Regions from separate parts of the Homo sapiens genome. Here regions 1 and 3 are each linked to region 2. The links are contacts of gene promoters, found by promoter capture Hi-C in human tissues and cell types (Jung and others, 2019). All regions are on one chromosome and are shown on one strand. The core of a region is centred on a gene start or on the middle of the fragment in contact, and the rest is flanking DNA. Distances in the headings are between cores, read along the strand shown. Region 1 holds the start of LOC124904896 (a long non-coding RNA gene). Region 2 holds the start of GHRH (growth hormone releasing hormone). Region 3 overlaps KIAA1755.

What was found. Contacts are between HindIII fragments. The study calls those that stand out against the background at their distance.
Region 1: a contact is called between a fragment that was not itself captured here and the fragment with the promoter of GHRH in region 2, in 1 of the 25 tissues and cell types used here (mesenchymal stem cells).
Region 3: a fragment that was not itself captured here is called in contact with the fragment with the promoter of GHRH in region 2 in 2 of the 25 tissues and cell types used here (heart right ventricle and lymphoblastoid cells).

Annotation. Positions count from the first base shown.
Region 1 is chr20:37,917,696-37,921,933 of GRCh38, forward strand. All of the region lies in intron 1 of VSTM2L (V-set and transmembrane domain containing 2 like), which reads left to right. It overlaps LOC124904896 (a long non-coding RNA gene), which reads right to left and starts at 1,297. Exons shown (of 3, transcript XR_007067576.1): 1 at 1-1,297. RefSeq lists an enhancer at 1-33. The HindIII fragment of the contact is 6,050 bases long and covers 1-4,238 here.
Region 2 is chr20:37,259,127-37,263,729 of GRCh38, forward strand. It overlaps GHRH (growth hormone releasing hormone), which reads right to left and starts at 2,688. Exons shown (of 5, transcript NM_021081.6): 1 at 2,617-2,688. The HindIII fragment of the contact is 8,848 bases long and covers 494-4,603 here.
Region 3 is chr20:38,242,559-38,247,297 of GRCh38, forward strand. It overlaps KIAA1755, which reads right to left. Exons shown (of 14, transcript NM_001029864.2): 2 at 3,371-3,568. Among named protein-coding and RNA genes, the nearest start is that of KIAA1755, 16 kb to the right of the region's middle. RefSeq lists an enhancer at 3,884-4,384. The HindIII fragment of the contact is 6,067 bases long and covers 1-4,739 here.

The DNA of each region.
Region 1 (4,238 bases), core at 214-2,713, 660 kb after region 2:
CCCCTGGCCCCTTCCCCTGTTAGCCACCACACCAGCACTTCCTGTGGGTAGAGCACAGTCTGAGCTCTGCGGAGCCTGGGGTTGCGGAGAAGGAGGCTTTGGACTGGATGGGACAAGAGGCCGTTGATGGCGTGCGGCCCACGCAGGAGAGTAAACAGCTCTCACCAGGGGCAACATTTCTTTGATGTCTCCTATTTCATTCAAAATTTATGACTTCTATATTCTATCCCATAATATATTCATGTTTGTTTTAATACAAAAATAACGTTCTTGTCCCATGTTTCTGGAGTGAAGTCAATGCCTCAGGAAGTTGCTTTCCTGGTTTGAGCAGCACAGACCATAAAGGGGTCATCCATTCATTTCTTTGTTCATTCATTCTCCAAGTATGCAATTCAGGTATTTTCATTCCTTAAGTGGGTGTTAGTTCTCACTACGGGCAAGGATGCTGTCCCAAGAGCCACACTGGAAGAATCGGCAAGATTGGGATAGGGAAGTGGCAGGGAAGCTTTCCAGGTATGTGGCCCAGCAGGAGCAAGGCTTGGAGGTGGGAACTAGTGATGGGTTGTGAGATTGGGCCATGGCCATCGGAAGCCAGGGCTGGTGCTGGGTGCCCGCTGGTGTCCACACTTGAGCAGGACCTGCGTCCCAAGCCCCTTGTGATTAAGAAGAAAGTCTCTGCTGGTGCTTCTCTGACTTTAACACCTAACCTTCGCCAGTCTCCCTTGTTAATGAGAAAAAAACGGAGATTGAGGCTCATAGCCTTCAGCAGGCAAGCTTCTTTGGCTAGAATTTACGAATGCTGTTTGGTTTTCATAGCGTTTATTTTTACAGTTACCCTCTATTTATGGCAAGTGATGCTGATTTTTCATTTATGGCGGTAATAAAAGTCTTCTTTTAACCTGAATTTATTTAAGTAAAAGGGGAAAGATGCTTTGAAAATAAATATTAAGTAAATAATGGTGCATGTGGTACAGGGACCCTGTGGAAATGGTGATGGCAGCTAAAAGGCTGGGCTTGGGAGACCCCTCTCTGGTATGCCCTTTTCTGTTCTGAGTCCCCTCTGACTGTGCAAACCTCAGTCAGCCTTCAGGTCCAAGCAAGTCCCCTTCTCCTGGTAACCTCCCCTGACTCTCCAGGCAGACACGAGCCTATCTTTCTCCTAGGATCTTCTAGAACCTGCACCTCCTTCCATAGCTCCAACATGCAGTTTGCCCTGCATAACCCTGGGCAGCACTATGATTCATGGCCATATGAACAGTGCACATTCTGAACAACTGTACATGGCAGTCCAGGTTCAATCCCAGCCATTGTTCCTATAGCAGTCTCTGGCATGTGTGTCTCTCCTGGGGACTGCAGGCTCCCTGAGGGCAGGGGCCTGATCTGTGGCATCCTGGGAAGCCTGGCACGGGGCCTGGCTTAGGGTAGGGGGTCCATCAGAGCTGATCTCTTCCATTCCTTTTGAGGGAGGACTTAAGCTCCTACTGCACGCTGAGGCAGACACCTCCCACCAAGGCATGCTGCAGTTCCCTAAGCTTTCTTACAAAATGCCTTCTTCTTGGCTTCTTAGGAAGAAAGCCCATCTGCGTTTGTTTGCCTGTCCCAAGGTGAAGCAACCTTCATGAACTCACACCTCCATTCCTCCTGCCGCAGGCACCTGTCAGGGGCCAAGGGCTACCCAGAAAGAAACAAAGAGAACCCTCGGGTGCCTCCCTGGGGAGGAGAGGGCCCTGGACACAGCCAGGCTTCTCTGTTTCTGGAGGGCTTTTCCATCCTGATTATCTGGGTTTTCTTCTTATGGGGATTTTATGTCTCCTGATTTTAGAAGCCAGCTGAGATTTACAGGCGGTTGGGCTGGGACCTCATTAAATCCTCCCTCTCCAGCCCTTTCCCCGGGAGAGCTCTTACTCTGCTTCCCAGCTGGGAGGCAAGGTGGCCACAGGCCTTCCTGAACCTGGAGCACACACACCCTTGTGGCCTTGCCACCCAGCTGAGCTGGGCATAGAGCAGGCTTCCTGGAAATGGCCCCAGAGAATCACACTTTTTCTAGCTGAAAAGGATGGGGCTTAGATAAGATTTAGGCTTCAGTGGGGGAAATTTTGCAGCCAGCTTGAAGTCAGGCTGAACTCTAACTTGTCCCTTGATGCTGTGTGATCTCAGGCACCGACTCTCCCTCTCTGAGCCTTGGCACTTCCTCTGTGAAATGGGGCTGATAATAGTACCATCTCATCAAGTCTGAGAGGATGAAAGGGGTCCTGTGTACAGTGTCTGGCATAGAGGAGGGGCTTCCTTCCTTCAACCCCGGGGCAGGAGACTGGCTCCAATGGCCCCCAGGTTCTCTGAGCTTTGGTTTTCTCACGCTGCTGGAAAAGGGCCAGGTATGGAAGTGGGCAGTGGCTGCAGAGGCTGTCGATGCCCCCTTACTCTGTCTTCATCACTGCAACAACGGAGCCAGCAGAAACAGGGAAGTGTTTGAATTCTAGAGTCCCAAGGTCTGGGTTTGAATCCCAGCTCCTGCTCCTGACTTGCAGTGTGACCTTGTGACACATGTCCCTGAGCCTCAGTTTCCCTGCCTGGAATAAAGGGACAATGATCCCTGCCCAGCAGGATCACTGTGAGCATCATATGGGATCAGGCACATCACCTTCCTGTTGCATCGTGGGCTCCAATCAGAAAGATGATGCCACGGGGCTGCTGGGCTGGCCCGTAGCCAACAAGGGTTGGGGAGCTACTGGCGAAGCAGCCACCCACTCCTGGCACTGTCAGCCTTTATTTATTGCCCTGTTTCATTCTTGGTTGCGTTTCACAAGATGACTTTATGGGCCATCTCAGGGGGAGCCTCCAGCCTGCCTGTCAGTCTGGCTGGGTGGCCCCTCAGCTGGGCCAGGTGGGCCAGGCTGGCCTTGGGCAGCCAGTGGCCACAAGGGCCAGGAGGAGAGGGACAGTGGGGAGGAGGCCGGCCTGCCAAGCCTCACTTAGGACCTCCCTGCTTATGCATGTCCATAGTGTCCACATGTCTGTCCCTATCCCTGCTCCTGTGGGCACAGTCCCCCCAGGAAACTCCAATCTGGCACATAGTAGGCATCCAATAAATGTTGAGTGAATGAATGAACTGGATGAATGAATGAATGATTTCTATGCCTATTGGTTTTTTCCTTAGAACTTCAATCCTCTGGGCTTTTGTCTGACCTTCCTTTCTCCCTTGATTGATTGATTGATTGATTGATTCATTCATTCATTCATTCACTCATGTGTTTAGTACATGCCTAGCCACCTCCTGTGTGCCTGATCTGGGCTGGGCAATGCAGGGTCCCTGACCTGGGAGAGTTCCCAGCTTGCAGGAGACCCAGACACCTGTCATATAACATCTGTCATATAACACACTCCAGATGTCATATAACACACTCAGCATCTGTCATGTAACACACTCCAGGGCAGGGAGAGGCAGCCTCGGAGACCTCTGGGGGCACCAAGCAGGGCTTCCACCCTAGCCTGAGGAGGGAGAGTACCTTTAGGCAGAGGACTACCTGTGAGTCAGGATTCCAGGGACAGTGTGCAGGCTGTGTCCTTAGGGGGACACATGTAAGTGGCCAGGAGGGGCTGCAGTTGGGGTCTGGGCAGAACCAGAGCCTGCAGACTTTGGATGCCGAGCCTGGGAGCCTGATTTTGACCCTGAGGGCTGGTAGTTTCCCAATGAGGCCCAAGTACGGGAGCTTCCTGAAGGCCCCAGGCAGCCCGGAGTAGGGAAAATGGGATCCTTCCCCTGCCTGCCACCAGAGCTGCTAGAGCAGAGTGTTCCCTGAGCATCTACTATGTGCATGGTGTTGCTCTAGCTGCCGGGACATGGCAGTGAACAGACTAGAATCTCCTGCCTTTAACTAGAATCTCCATCTTCAATTCTAGTTGGAGTACAGATGATACACAGAAATAAAATGAGCAAACATGTAATAGGGGAGTGATGAGTGGTAAGGAGAAATATGAGGTAGAGAAAAGGGAACTGAGAGAGGGTGGGGGAGAAGGGAGGGCCTCACTGAGGAGGTGACATTGGAGCCGAGGTTTGAAGGAGTTGAAGATGCGGGGAGGGATATTCTGGGAACAAGTTCAGGGGATTTTTGTTTTCTTTCTCTCTTTCTTTCTTTCTTTTCCTTTTTTTTTTTTTTTTTTTTTTGAGATGGAGTCTTGCTCTGTCACCCAGGCTGGAGTGCAGTGGCGTGATCATAGCCCACTGCAGCCTTGAACTC
Region 2 (4,603 bases), core at 1,438-3,937:
TCCGGTAAGGACTGGGGCTAGAGAAAAGATGAGAACACGGGATCTACCCCGAGGGCTGGCTGTGTAACATCCGCCTGCTGGGCTGGAGCCTCTGCACCTACAGCCACACGACTGGTCCTTTAGATATGTTCCGCATGTCTGACTTAAGCTTTTGTTCCTCAGACCAAGGCTCGGCAGGCTTCCGTCCTCCTCATCGCACCATACCACGTCTGGTCCCCCTTCTCCCCACCTGGTCCAGGCTGCCTCTCCAGAAGTGGAATTTCCTAAGCCGAGAGATCTCTGGATGCAAGCAGGGCCCCTTGACAGAAACCACTGCCTTTTCTGTCTCCCAGCTGCAGCCTGGCTTTCTTGCCTTCTTTGCTGCTGATCTTTTAAAGATTCAGGCAGATCTAGGTCCCCAATCACCTCCCTCCCCTGCTCAGAAGCCCTTGGCTCCCCACTCCTTCCAGAATAAAGCTCAAACCCCTTCTCTTGGCTTAAGCTCTCCCTCTGCCTGCCCCTTCTCCCAAGGGCTGGCACAAGTGATTCCCAGCCCCTGTGCCCTATCAGGCTCCACAACCCATCCTTGCACTCTCCCTCTGGAGCAGGCATCCCCATGCTCCTCTTACAGCCAAGGAAAAGAGCCTAGAGAGGACAAGGACATTTTCCATGATCCTCCATCAAATTAGTTTTGGAGTGGGCACTTCAGAGTGGGCCTCCTCATTCCCAGGCCGGCAGACTTCCTTCCGCTCCATGCAGCAGCCTCCCAGGTACAATGCTCTATTCACAGTATTCCCCATTCACAGGGATCCTCAGCCTCCATCACCTGCACGTGGGAAAGGGTCTGAAAAAAAGGAAAGCTTCTTGCTCTTTGTTGTTGGGCCTCTGGGGAAGAAAGAACAGGGACAAACAGGAACACCTGCTTGATTGGCCCCTCCCTATGCACACCCAGTAGTTTCAGGGAGTTGAAACAACCTCATAGGAGGGCAGACTTTGGTGGGGAGGGCAAGTCATAGTAAACACAATACCCCGCTCATTCAAGATAAGGCTCAGCAACTGCACAAGTTAACCAAGAGGCTCAACATTTGCCACAAATCCTGTGCCCCAGGCATAGGTCAAGACCCCACAGCAACCTCTGAGCTATGAGAACCGAATCCATGGGTTTGCAGATCCCACTGGATGAAAATGGGAAACAAGAATTATCCAGTGTAGGGTAAGATAAGAAGAATAGAGGTTATGTCACTAAGGATAAAATAGCTCCAGCCTGAGCAACATGGCGAGACCCCATCTCTACAAAAAAAAAAACACACAAAACAAAACAAAAAAAAACTTATCTAGGCATGGTGGCGCATGCCTGTAGTCCCAGCTACTCTGGAGGCTGATGTGGGAGGATTGCTTGAGCCCGGGAGGTTAAGGCTGCAGTGATCCATGATAGTGCCACTGCACAGTAGCCTAAATGTCAGAGCAAGACCCCATCTCAAAGAATAAAATAAAATAGCTGTCAACAGACACATTCCACATGACAACTTAAGGAGTCAAAATTCACTGAATGAAGTGTAGCCGAGCCCAACAGCATTGCTGGCAACCCTGATGACTGAAGGCACTCCAGAGTTTATAATCTATCATTATGATCATCGGTTAGCTTCCTGCAGTGCTTACTGATTCTGGGATTAGATGTACTTGAGATTGCCTGGATTCAGGATAAACGGGCACTTGATCTACATCCGTTGGCACCTTTTGCCAGCTTTCATGCCAGGAATGCCAGGAGAATTCTGCAGATTCACCTGCAGCTGACAGAGGTCAGGTCTCAAGCACCCAAATTCGCAAGGCCATTTTTGAAAACCCAGGGAAAGAACATCTTTAACCTTCCTTGAATATCCCCCTTTGAAATTTGAGCACCCCAAAGCATAGACTTCCTGATCTGGTTTATAAACTGTTTCAGTGACAGCATTCCAAGTTAAAAGAAATCTAAGTTTTTAATGAGGAAGCATCTTGAACTGTCATTCAAAAGAGTGACACTCCACCTCCTTCCAGAAGGGGTTTGAGGCAGTCTATGGTGAAAGACACAAATACTTCAGGACCATTAAAGCAAGGATCAGGAGACAGGCGTGGGGTAGCGGAGGACTCCAAAGGCAGATAATTGTGTCTAAAACCTGGAGTAAAGAGTGTGGCTGCAATTGAGCAAGAAAGCAAAATGTTATCAATTTCCCGGCAATTACATTGAATCAGTTCTGAGTGATCAATGAGCAGTATTGATTTGCACAGCCACTTGGCTCATCTCTGATCCATGGCAGAATCCCATCGCTGACAGGAAAATCGAGCCAACTCACGTTTGCCCCCGAAGCCTGCCCACGCATCCTCGAAGGAGCACTGAGACCTCACCACCTGCGACAGACACCTGGAGCCAGTCCGCCACGCGCCCAAGTTAAGACAAGCCCCAAACAGCACCATCAAAAGCCTATTCCAGAGCCCCTATTGAGGGGTGATTTTATCCAGAGAGGGGCTCAAATGTACTCACCAGTCCATGGGCAAAGAGGATGGCGGTGGGCCTCTTGGACTCAGTGTTTCTAAGTTGGTGAGAAGGTTAACTTTTCTTACCCCCACCCAGCCTAGCCCCCCCAGGGCCACCCCTCTCACCTGATGCGGCAGATATCCCTCTGCTCCGAGGCACTGCTCAAATCCAGGGGCCCTGGGCTGGGTGTTTGCTCTGGCAGCCGCCTGGCGTTCCCATCATTTATCTCTTCATTTTCCTAAGCGTTGTCAGCGTCAGAGAATCAATTACCCACAAGTCAACCAAAGGACTGTTTTTAGCATCATATCACACTGACAAACCCTGTTGGTGAAAGAGGTTTGGCCCCTTGCAGACTTAGACTCCTGGTAAAGTCTCCTTTTATCTTTGGCACAGTGGACATAGTACAAAGGTGTAACATTATTCCAAGAGGATATAGAGAATATATACTGCTATAATAGTGATTGGAGAACTCGGCTGGGCGCGGTGGCTCACACCTGCCATCCTAGCACTTTGGGAGGCTGAGGCGGGTGGATTGCCTGAGCTCAGAAGTTTGAGACCAACCTGGGCAACATAATGAGACCCTGTCTCTAGAAAAAAATTAAAAATTAGCTGGGCATGTTGGCACATGGGTATAGTCCCAGCTACTCAGGTGGCTGAGGCAAGAGTGTCACCTGAGCCTGGGAGGCGGAGGTTGCAGTGAGCCAAGACCACGCTATGGCACTCCAGCCTGGGTGACAGAGCACGACTCTATCTCAAAATATATATTTTTTAAAAAAAGAAAAAATATGTGTTAAAAATAATTGGAGAACTCATAACAGTGAAACACCAAGAGTTTATTGATTCTCCAAGATAAATGTGCCTTTTCAAAAGTTCATATAATTTAGCTTTGTCCCTGTGTAATTTTATTTCACTTTTGGGTAGACAACATTATGAATAAGCGTTATTCTCTCCTTAGTGGGGAATTTGTTCCCTATCTCCCTTGTCGTCCAATTATCAGAATTCTGCACTATTTGATTTACACCTGCTTGGTCACAGGCTGATTTCAACAGCTAGCCTGGGGGCATCCGTCGTCACCTGTCAAGGCAGCCAGACATTGGCAGTTGCCTCAGAGAAGTGTGAAATGAGAGGGAAGAGATGGAAAACCTTGGGAGAGTTGTTGTGTTTCCAGATTTCTCTAGCCTATAGCTAAGAAATCCTCAGGAATGACATAAAAGCACAGGAGGCAGAAGCTCTGGTTTCCCAGGCGGCCGTCGTGGAGGTGTGGAAAGAGCTCCAAGCCTCGAGTCTAGGGACCTGCTGCCTCTCCCAAGCCTGTCAATCATGACCTCTGTGACCCTTAGGAAGTTACTTCTACCTGGCTGGGTGCAGTGGCTCACACCTGTAATCCCAGCACTTTGGGAGGCTGAGGCGGGTGGATCATGAGGTCAGGGGTTCGAGACCAGCCTGACCAACATGGTGAAACCCCGTCTCTACTAAAAATACAAAAATTAGCTGGGTGTGGTAGTGGGCACCTGTAATCCCAGCTACTCAGGAGGCTGAGGCAGGAGAATTGCTTGAACCCGGGAGGTGGAGGTTGCAGTGAGCCGAGATCGTGCCACTGCACTCCAGCCTGGGCGACAGAGCGAGACTCTGTCTCAAAAAAAGAAAAAAAACTTCTACCCTCCGGGCCTCAGTTTCTACCTGGAAACTTGAGAGTTGACATAGAACAGCAACTTTCAAACTATTTTTTTGAGAGGGATCCTATCTTTGCCACCCAGGTTGGAGTGCAGTGGCATAATCTCGACTCATTGCAACCTCCACCTCCCGGGTTCAAATGATTCTCCTGCCTTAGCCTCCAGAGTAGCTGGGATTACAGGTGCGTACCACCACGCCTGGCTAAGTTTTGTATTTTAGTAGAGATGGGATTTCACCATGTTGGCCAGGTTGGTCTCAAACTTCTGACCTCAGGTGATCCACGTGCTTCTGCCTCCCAAAGCACTGGGATGACAGGTGTGAGCCACCACACCCAGCCCAAACATTTTTTAAAAAGTAGCAAAACTCTTTCTTTGGAAACCTACAGAGACAGGTTTTTAATATGGGGCTACTCTGGTTGAAGAGGGGGAAGTGGAGACC
Region 3 (4,739 bases), core at 720-3,219, 980 kb after region 2:
GCCTATCTTAAAAGTGCACAGAGCACTTACATCAGCCTACAGTTGGCCAAAATCATCTAACACAATGCCTATTTTATAATAAAGTGTTGAACATCTTATTGAATTTGGATAGTGTATGAGGGTGAAGTAGAAACAGTATTGAATGAGAAGTCAGGAAATCTGACCCTGCCACTAACTTACTAGATGGCTGTCCAGTTTTTCCTGACCCAAAGGTTATTCTGGGCCTGAATGTTTATTTTTTATTTGTTTGTTTATTTATTTCTCATTAAATAAATGAAGGCTTATTTGTTTATTTTTTATTTATTTCCCATTAATGGATAATAACACGAAGGTGAAGCAAAACTTTAAAAAGAAATTTTTTTTTAACAGGAGTTGCCAGAAATTCCCTGTATAGGTGGGTACAGAGGGTCATTCTGGAACAGGCTGTGACCCAAGTGATCCCTCTCAGTTGAGCCTGTCCACTGGGCTGTGCGGGACCAGTGTTCAACAGTGACACCATGTGGCAACAACGGAAACAACAGCTCCACTGGGCTGACAACAGGTCTTTAACTGGCTTTTGGAAAAAGAGTCTGAGTTCTGTGGATTGAGTAAGTCCCAGACAATCTTATATAATTTGGATGTGTGTAGGGGAGATGTACAGAGAGTGAGACTGAATTTCCTGCTAATTAAACAGGTGTTTCCTGGAATTATTGATTGCGGAAATAGTGAGATCTGACCATAGTTATACCTTATGTTGATAAACCCATTTATATCAGTCATATTGTAGATTGGGCTGCCTCAGAGAAGCTTAATATCCATAAACCTTCATGAGTCTGTAGGTTTTCTCGACCCTTTTCACTTAGCCCTCTTGGGTTTGCAACATGCTTTCTCTCTCACCTTCTCATTGAATGAGAAAAAACAGCCCAGCCATTTTTTGCAAACAGCAAAGCACCAGAGTGATGATGGCTTTGCTCATCTCACTTGACTTTCACAGTAACTCAGTTTGATGTAGGCAGTCCAGGCATTATTATTTTCATTTTACAGATGATGCAACTGAGGCTCAGTGTGGTGAAACATTTGGCTCATAGCCACACAGCTGATAAGCATCAGGGACTTGGACCTAGGCCTTCACATTTCAAGTCAGCTGTATCTGTCCCCAAGCCCCACCAGACTTCATGTGAAGGTGGCTGCTTCTGGGTGATGGTGGCTGGAGAGGCAGACTTTGAGGCTGCCATGCTCTTATTTCAGATGGAGAAACAAGGAAGTGGGATAGCGATAGCCAATAGCTACTGGGCACTTGCTGCATGCCAGAGTCTTTGCTAAGCCATGTGTTGTCATCTCCATGTGTTGTCATCTCCATGTGTTAGGTGCTGTGTTATTAACGTTTCTGCTTGACACATAAGGAAACTGAAACTCAGAGAGGTGGCATGGATCTCCAAAGTTCACAGTGATGAGCTTGGATTTGAACCTGGGGCATCTGAACCCAGAAGCCATCCTGTTAATCACACATGACTTCCCATTGCTCTGAGATTGACAGATATTTGCCTATCATTACAATTAGATTAAACTCACCTACAAGGAAAAATAAAGACGCGGAAATGTTGTTACCTTGAGGAAGCGGCCAGTGCAAATGAAGTTTAAATGGCCAAATAAGGGAAGTGGGCAATTGTGTAGCTTGTCAGGGAGAAGAAATAAGGATGGGGGAGCATCTGCATGAAATAGTGTCATGTGGAAGTGGCTGCAAATGCTTCCATGAGAAGCTCCCTTCTTCTCCAATACTAGTTCCCATGTATTGAGCTATGATCTATGAGCCAGGCTCTGTGCTAAGCATGTAAAATAGATTATCTCACTTTCCTTCTGGTTCCTAACCCTGGACTTTTAGCTGCCACGTTCAATTTATTTCTACCACTGGAATGACGCACACAGTCCCCACCCTTCCTTGTTGCTTCTGATGAGCTGTGTCCCTGACAGGCAGTGGGCAACTCAGGACAGGCTGATGGGACCTTAGAACCTCTTTGTGATTCTTGAGGCTGAGGTAGCAGGAGGGTGGATGTTAATAACAACAGAGCAGGGAACAGTAGGGAAACCCATGAAGGGAATGGCAAGTTCCTGTGGTGGGCATTTGACGGCTTGGTCTCCTCAGGCTTCTCTCATCCTTTTCTGTTTTTTGTTTTTTGTTTTTTGTTTTTGAGACAGGGTCTCACTGTGCCACCCAGGCTGGAGTGCAATGGCGTGATCTTGGCTCACTGCAACCTCTGCCTCCTGGGTTCAAGCGATTCTCCTGCCTCCAAGCGATTCTCTTGCCTCAGCCTCCTGAGTAGCTGGGACTACAGGCATGTGCCACCACGCCCGGCTAATTTTTGTATTTTTAGTAGAGACGGGGTTTCACCATGTTGGCCAGGCTGGTCTCAAACCCCTGACGTCATGATCCACCTGCCTTGGCCTCCCAAAGTACTGGGATTACAGGCATGAGCCACCACTGCCGGCCTTCTCATCCTTTTCTTAAAACAGCTCCACCCTCTGACCATAGAGGTAGACACGTGACTCAAGCTTGGCCAATCCTGGTACCCCACTCCTCTGGCCACAGTGATTGGTCCAGGAATGGGCATATGACCCAAGCCTGGCCAATCAGGATCCTTCCTTGAGATTTTTCTATGTGCAGTGGATGGGAAAGAGTTTATTTTCCTCTCTAGGATAGAATATAAATCCTTGAGCTTCCCTGGGTTCCAGCCTTGTGGGAACACTTAGCCTGGAAGAATAATGCCAACAAGCAGCGCAAAGCAGAGACTAGGGACAGAAAGGATCTTCAAGGGATTTGATCAGTGGATCAACTTGGGCCTGAGGCCTGATCCACCCTTCCCTGGTTTGAGTGAGGATTCTGTCATTTGCAGCCAATGAGTCTGGCTAAAACACTTTTCTCTCCACTTTGCCTTGGCAGAGGCCTCCCTGAGATCTGAGTTTGAAGAGGTCACAGGGGAAGAAAGCAAGAGTCCTGATGCCTCAGGGGCTCCAGGGAAGCTCTAGGACCTTCTCTGCTATTTCCACTGAAGCTGCCTCACTTCACCAAAGGCACTTGGCAGTGCCCACAATGTCAGGCGCAGGGCAGGCTCCCCAAGACCAGGGAGCCCCCAAGGATGCCTTTACTCAGGCCTTCTTCTCTGCTGGTGACAGTACAATGTAATGAACTCATAGATGTCACAAGGTAAATCCCCTTCGATCTGGGGGGCTGATGTCTCCCCCTGGGCAAGCAATGATACTTGGAAAGTCCCCCCACACCCTCAGCTCCCCGTGAAACAAGACACAGGCCAGCCCACCTCCTTCTCTGCCCGCCTCTAGCCCCATGACTTTCTGGAACAGCTTGTTCCCTGTCCCTGTTTCCCTCTTGACTTACACAGGCTGCTTCTCGCACTTGCTCACACAGGCGCTTGGCAGGGATCAGGAAATCCAGAAGGAAGCTCAGCCCATCCCCCTGGAAGCCAGAGTCCAGGAGACGGAACACCTGACCCAGGACGGTGGGTGCTGTGGCCTCGAAAGGAGGATAGAGGCCCGCCAGGGCATGCTGGATGGCTGTGTCGAGGGATGGAGGGTCCTGTGGGGGACAGGAGGAGGGGGTGATAATAGCAATGATAATAAGGGCAGAGACCACTTCCCGTGACCTTCCAGGCCCCATATGCCTAAGGCCCCTGCTAATTCTCTGACCTCCTCTCCTACCCCACCCCCCTCACTCATCACTGCCAGCCACACTGGCCTTCTTTCCTGTCCCTCAAACACACTAGGCACAATCTCACCTCGGGGCCTTTGCACTGGCTGTTCCCTCTGCCTAGAATGCTCTTCCTCAAGACAGCCTCATTCCCACACCTCTTGCAGGTCTTTGCTCAAATGTCATCTGCTGATCCACGGAGACGTGGAGGAATAGGGGTGGGGGGTGGGCATTCAGGTCAGGGTCAAAGGGAAAGAGGATTTTGGCATTGCCCCAGTCTGACCGCCTGGCTGGCCTGCAGGCCTGCAGCCTGAAGCTGAGCCACGAGGGAAGCCCAGCCCAGACCAGACAGCCCCACTCCACATGCAGATGGGAGAGTGAGAATAAGTGATTGCTGTTTTGCCACTGAGCTTTGGGGTCATTTTTCACACAGCAATAACTGATACAAGTCCACGGCTGCAGACTGTACAGCCAGCTGCCTCCCATGGACCTCCTAGATGCCTCTCAGCCACCAACCGCCAACATATCAGACCCAACCTGGCAACTTCCCAAACCTGCTCCTCCCCCAGTCCTACCTCGGTGATGACCCCACCGCCCAGTCAGGCTCCTAGGCCAGAAATCTGCTCACAGCACTGCTTCTCCTCCTGCCTCCCAACCCACAATCAGCCCTCAGTGTGTCCCACACCACTTCCCCTCCACCAACAGCTCTCCAGCCAGGTGCTCCGCGCTGTCCCCTGCCCCCGCCCTGATCCAGGCTTCACCGCCTCTTCCAGGAAGGGATCCAGAAGGCAGTCAGCCCGTCCCCCTGGCAGTCAGAGTCCAGAAGAGGGAAAACTGGGCCCAGGACCCAGGATCACCTGACTCCTCTCTTTGGCTGCCAAATTCTCGTCTGCCTCACCCCAGCCATTTTCCACCAGGACCCCAGAGCGACCTTTCTCAAATGCAAACCAGACCTCATCAGTCTCTGCTCCAAACTCCTCAAAGGTTCCCACCGTCTTCAGGAAGCATCAGCCTCCAGGCATCCAGCTCCCCTGAGATCTGGCAGCTGCCCTCCGCCCCC